Regions from separate parts of the Homo sapiens genome. Here region 1 is linked to region 2. The links are contacts of gene promoters, found by promoter capture Hi-C in blood cells and fetal thymus (Javierre and others, 2016). All regions are on one chromosome and are shown on one strand. Each heading gives the region's core, a stretch centred on a gene start or on the middle of the fragment in contact. The rest is flanking DNA. Distances are from core to core; before and after follow the strand shown.

Region 1 (2,734 bases), core at 201-2,700, 120 kb after region 2:
TCTGATTAAAATACCAGTTAATTGCACCTTCCCAAAATCTTTTTTTTTTTTTTTTTGAGACAGAGTCTCACTCTGTCATCCAGGCTGGAGTGCAGTGGTGCTATGTCAGCTCAGTGCAACCTCTGCCTCCCAGGTTCAAGTGATTCTCCTGCCTCAACCTGCCGAGTAGCTAGGACTACAGGCACGTGCCACCAGGCCCGGCCAATTTAAATTTTTTTTTTTATTTTTAGTAGAAACAGCATTCCACCATGTTAGTCAGGATGGTCTTGATCTCCTGACCTCATGATCCGCCTGACTCGGCCTCCCAAAGTGCTGAGATGACAGACGTGAGCCACCGTGTCCAGCCCGCAAATCTTATGGTACCCACAGAATTTTTTTCTGCCCCAGACACAACCTCAGTTGTTTGTCTCTTTAAGAGGGAATGGCGTAAGCCTATTTCTATAAGCAAATAGTGAATTTTTTTTTTTCCCGAAGTCCTGGGTACCAAAGTGCTTTATGAAAGCCACTTGTTTTGGGGTAGACAGATCTCTCCTGTTTGAAAAAGGAAAAGGGATGGAAGGTTTCCTCAATAGGTGACCTCCTGGGACATGAGGCAAGTGGGCCCAAGGCCATCACAATTATTTAACCTCTTTCCTAAGTATTTTGGTTTCTCTGTCCTGGAAAATGGTGCCACTGCCACACCTTGTTTATGTTTCATTTTAGAATGCCAGAAATGTCACTGCATATTTCCCTAGAGCCCGCTGGTATGATTACTACACGGTAAGTTTTTCTGAATGTTTATACAACACGGGAAAATGGTAGAGAGTACAAAGGCTTTAGATCTGATAGACCTTAGGTCAAATGCTGGCTCTGTAACCCACCTGCTGTGTGGTCTTAGAGAAGCCACTTTAACCCTTGTAACCTCGGTTTTCTCACCTCCAAGTGGAGTAAGACCACTTCCCTCATAGAACTGTTGTGAAATGACACATAAAGCATCTCACTCAGGTTTTTCGTGGGTGTTCTCTTTGTGTTAATTTTTAATATTTTCTTATATCACTGCTATTTACAATGTTTTGTAAAGGCAGATGCTTTTGAGATTGTGTTGCAAACTATAGTTTTTGTTTTTAATGTTTATATCTTTACCTGCTGTAAGTTTGTAAGCATAGAGGCCTTTTTGTCTCTGTCTTTTTATTAAATATCTCCTTCCATAGCATAGATGCTCAAAGAAGGGCACTGCACATAATTACCTAAGGTAAGCAAGTGATTAGGCAATGTGCAAAACACACACAGAGGTATGGGACCCAACCCTTGTGAGTCTAAGCAGTGCAAGTGCATTTAGAAATGAGGAAGCAATGAAGAGCTCCTTGCCGCATAGTTTCTGTGCTATTATGTTCCCCAAAGACTTATCTGGGAAGCCAGGGTCTTCCCGGGCAGCTCTGGGGTGGTGGGCTCTTGCTGGGACCCTGACAAGTCAGACCCTGATTCTTGGGGAAGAATCAAAGAAGGCATTTCCTTGGTCTCTAATGGGGCCTCTTCTGACTTTCTGAGGAGAACATCGTTGAGGGCTGGAAATACAGCAAAGGGGTACAAGCAGGGATACAGGAAGCAGAGCATGTGCTGGCCCCTTTCATCCAAGGGGATTGCAGTGAGATTAGGTGAAAACTGGAGAAGGATGTGCATTTTGTTCCTTCTCTTCTCAGTCCATTGGAGCCCAAGTCCTCTCCACAGCCCCAGACTCCTCTTCCTGCTGCTAGTCTGGATCTGCCCTTAGGGTGGTAACATGTTAAGGCTCTGCTATGTGTGTCCCAGCCAGGCGTTTCCCAGGAAGAGGTGGCCAGCTTTCTTTACGTGAGACTGGCCTTTGTCCTGAGTGTGCATGTTGAGTCTCCCATTCACTAACAGAAGATGTCTTTGGTTGAAGAGGAAAAGACAAAAGAAATCATGGAGCAAGCTATTTAGAAAAAGATGAAATTTTGATGTTTAATTAAAATGAAGATGAATTTCATAGTTAATATTAATGAAGAAGTGTCACCTTAATTAATCTTCCCAAGTTTGGGTAACTATTACTCATTCTAGAGCACAAGCTGGCAAAAACTATGGCCCACAGCCAAATCTGGTTGTTAGCTGATTTGCAAATAAAGTTTTATTGGAACACAGCCATGCATATTTGTTCGCTTGTTGTCAACAATAACTGCTTCTTACCTGTAAAGTAGCAGCTCTGAAATGAGAGGATTTTGCCTACCAGGGGACATTTGGCAATGCCTGGAGATATTTTTGGTTGTCACAACAGAGTGGGGGTGAGGAGGTGATGCGGCTGACATCCGAGGATTCTGCTAAATATCAAAAGGCACAGGATAGCCCCATCGCCAGAGAATTGTCTGGCCCCAAATCTCAATAGTGCTGAGACTGAAAAGCCCTGCTCTAGTTGAGAACATGTAGGATGGAAGCATGGTCCCTTAGGTTCTGATACAGGTGAGAGAGTAGCACCTCTTCCTGTCACACATCAGGCAAATGTAGTTTGTACAGTGGAAGCAAAGGCAAGAGACCCTAACAAGATATTATAGCAGCCTTGCAAGATTTCTTGCAGCACTGGGTGAATGCAGAATGGGTAATGGCAGGTATGTTGCAAAGGGTGATGAGCAGGCATAAGTTCAGAAGGGAGGATGAGATGTCTGGCAGGATGCATTGTTCAGGGAGGGGCCTGTCCTCTCCTTAGTCATCTCTTACCTTCTTCTGCCTCCAGGGTGTGGATATT
Region 2 (2,700 bases), core at 27-2,526:
TGTATAGTGCTTAATTATTTTATTCATCTATAAGTGAGTTCATTGATACAAAGTGGAGAGACTTTCAATTGTGTTTTATAGAAGAAATTGGAAGGCTTTGTGAGGAATCAGAGTTGTATTCCTGAAGAATCAGAGGCATATTTATGAAGACTCACAGGCGTATTAATGAAGAGCTCATTTCATGTCCATTCTCAGCACAGTGTCCGGGAATCTGCCTTGTGGTCGGCTCTTACCTTCAGGCTGCTCTGAGCCCAGAGCAGAATGGTCATCACAGCTCTCCTCAACTTGGCATTGCCTGAGATCAGGATGGCTGCATGCCCAGAGGGACAAGCTGCCATTATCCCAACACAAACCATCACCCCTATTTTGTCGCGCCACAGAATCAGTAGGGGCACAGAGATGAAGGCAGCACAGGATGATATCACAAAGAAGCAGAAAAAGGAGACAAGAGACTTGAGGGCTTTAATGTGGGCCTCCAGGCTGGGGTCACGAGAGTTTCTGGTATAGACCTTCATTGTCCTCATGTGCCTTCCCAGGGAGACAGTCAGCATCCCAGAAGAAACCAGAAACAATAGGAAAGGAGGCACAGACCACAGATAGCAGAAGAGAAAGGAATAAAATAAATTGAGATCTTTAATCTGCCAGTTGAGCCTTGTATTGTTATTCATGAATAGCACAGTTGTGACTGTGAAGTGAGGTCTGCTAAAAAAGCACCAAACACAGAGGACAGTGCAGATGCAGGAGCAAAGAATAATACCCAGGAGCATCTGGGAGATCTTCCTGGAGACCCAGCTTGCCAAGCAGATCAGGAAGGTGTGAGAGAAACGGATGAGCTTGGAGCAGTAAAGCAGGCTGAGGCAGGCAGCAAGCCAGAGGTTGGCTTGGTTTGCAATCATCCATAGCATGATGATGGCTTGGTAGCTGTGGTTCAGTGGTTCACTCAACTTCTGGAAGTGGGTAAGCTGGATAGCACTCAGGAACAGCAGTCCATGCAGGAAAAGCCGGCTGATGCTGAGACACAGCAGCACACAATCACTGTTGCTCAGTGCCTGCCTCTTCACTACATCCCAAAAATTCACCAAGAAAACGAAGGCATTGGTCAGAAACCCCACTGCAAACTCCAGGACTGAAATGAACAGAAATGTACTCCTGACTTCATAGGACACAGTGCGGATGCGAGTTAGAGTCAACATGATGTCACTTCTCTAATTGGCTATTCTACTTCTCTTCTCTAGTTGGCTAATCTAAAGACCTGGTTGCCACCCAGTGCAGAAAGGTAAATGTACGTTCCAAGCCAGGACCTTTCCTTCACAAAGCATCCAGCTCTTTGCCTAGATCTATCCCAAAGCGAGCGCATAAAAAGTTCTGGCAGGAAACTTAGAGGGATGTTGTTTCTCTAGAACATCTCTTGGATACACGTAAGAGCTTATCATAGGGTGGAAGACTGATGGTTCTACCTCTTGGGTGATGCAAGATTAATAAATCCAGGTGTTCCTGTACAACCGCCTTCCCAGAAGGCCATAGCACAGCATCACGGATGCAAACAAAACAGGGCCTCAATTTCCCCAATCCAGTTTTGCATGCCCATCTGGACCTGTGGGGGTGGCGAAGAGAACAGGATTTGCTTATGGGTTTTGAGGCACCCTGCAGCAGGCAAAGCAGATATTCTTGGTGATCTAAGGTTTGAAATAGAGTCTCTTTTCATTTGCATTCCTTCTCTCATCTGTGAAGTAATGACTCTTATCACAGACTGTGTTTTTAATATAGATAAATGCATGGTTCCTTTCCATGTGTCAGTGTATGATTGCAGTTTTATTTGCTGTTGCCAAAGGTTTCATGCAATCATCATTATTATGCCAGGCACTGTGCCTGGCAAGGAGAATATTAACATGAACAAGACTAGCACGCTGTCATGAAGGGAGAGGAAAGGGGGCATAGCTGGTTTGGATTATTATTATGTTTATTTTTTAATTAGTATAAGTTCTGGGGTACATGTGCAGAACATGCAGGCTTGTTACATAGGCATACACCTGCCATGGTGGTTCGCTGCACCCATCAACCCGTTATCTATATTAGGTATTTCTCCTAATGGTCTCCTTCCCCTTGCCCCCTACCCCCTGACAGGCCCTGGTGTTTGATGTTCCCCTCCCTGTGTCCATGTGTTCTCATTGTTCAACTGCCACTTATGAGTGAATTTCCCCCGATAAATCCTTTAAGAGTTATTGGTGCTGCCCCATTGGTGTTTTTCGATACTTTCTCTTTGTATTTTTTATGTTTTCTTTTGACTAAAGCTCCTTTTTTATTATTAGTAGTGACATAAGTCAGTGATTACTAAAGATGTTCACTTTTGTTTTATTCTGAACTGTTCATACGCAGATATTTATGTAGTCCTTATTTGTGCATCATGATGTAGCAGTTGTATTTAATTAATTGTGTTTGTGACCACTTCATTTGGGTCATTCATGCTTACAGAGTGTCAAACACAGAATTCTGCACTTTCAACTTAAGCTAATTTTCTCCTTGTCTTCACCACACCAGGTGGCGGTGTTGCACTAAAGGTGTTTAGAAAAGATGTTTGCCTCCCTAAAAAGTCTAGGTAGAAACTTGCTCTACTGCACAAGCAGAGATATATAACTATACAGTTAGAACCATTTATATCAAGATTATAATCTTTTATTAAAAAATAAAGTTCTTTATGTT

Evidence for each region. The method cuts DNA at HindIII sites, captures the fragments that hold promoters and counts their contacts. A CHiCAGO score of 5 or more calls a contact.
Region 1: a contact is called between a fragment that was not itself captured here and the fragment with the promoter of TAS2R38 in region 2, in 1 of 17 cell types (neutrophils). The highest score is 8.0, in neutrophils.

Annotation. Positions count from the first base shown.
Region 1 is chr7:142,096,891-142,099,624 of GRCh38, forward strand. MGAM (maltase-glucoamylase) reads left to right here. Exons shown (of 71, transcript NM_001365693.1): 66 at 703-759; 67 at 2,723-2,734. Among named protein-coding and RNA genes, the nearest start is that of MGAM2, 13 kb to the right of the region's middle. The HindIII fragment of the contact is 6,332 bases long and covers 1-2,734 here.
Region 2 is chr7:141,972,497-141,975,196 of GRCh38, forward strand. TAS2R38 (taste 2 receptor member 38) reads right to left here and starts at 1,277. Exons shown (of 1, transcript NM_176817.5): 1 at 135-1,277. The coding sequence starts at 1,193. The coding sequence ends at 192. The HindIII fragment of the contact is 7,298 bases long and covers 1-2,700 here.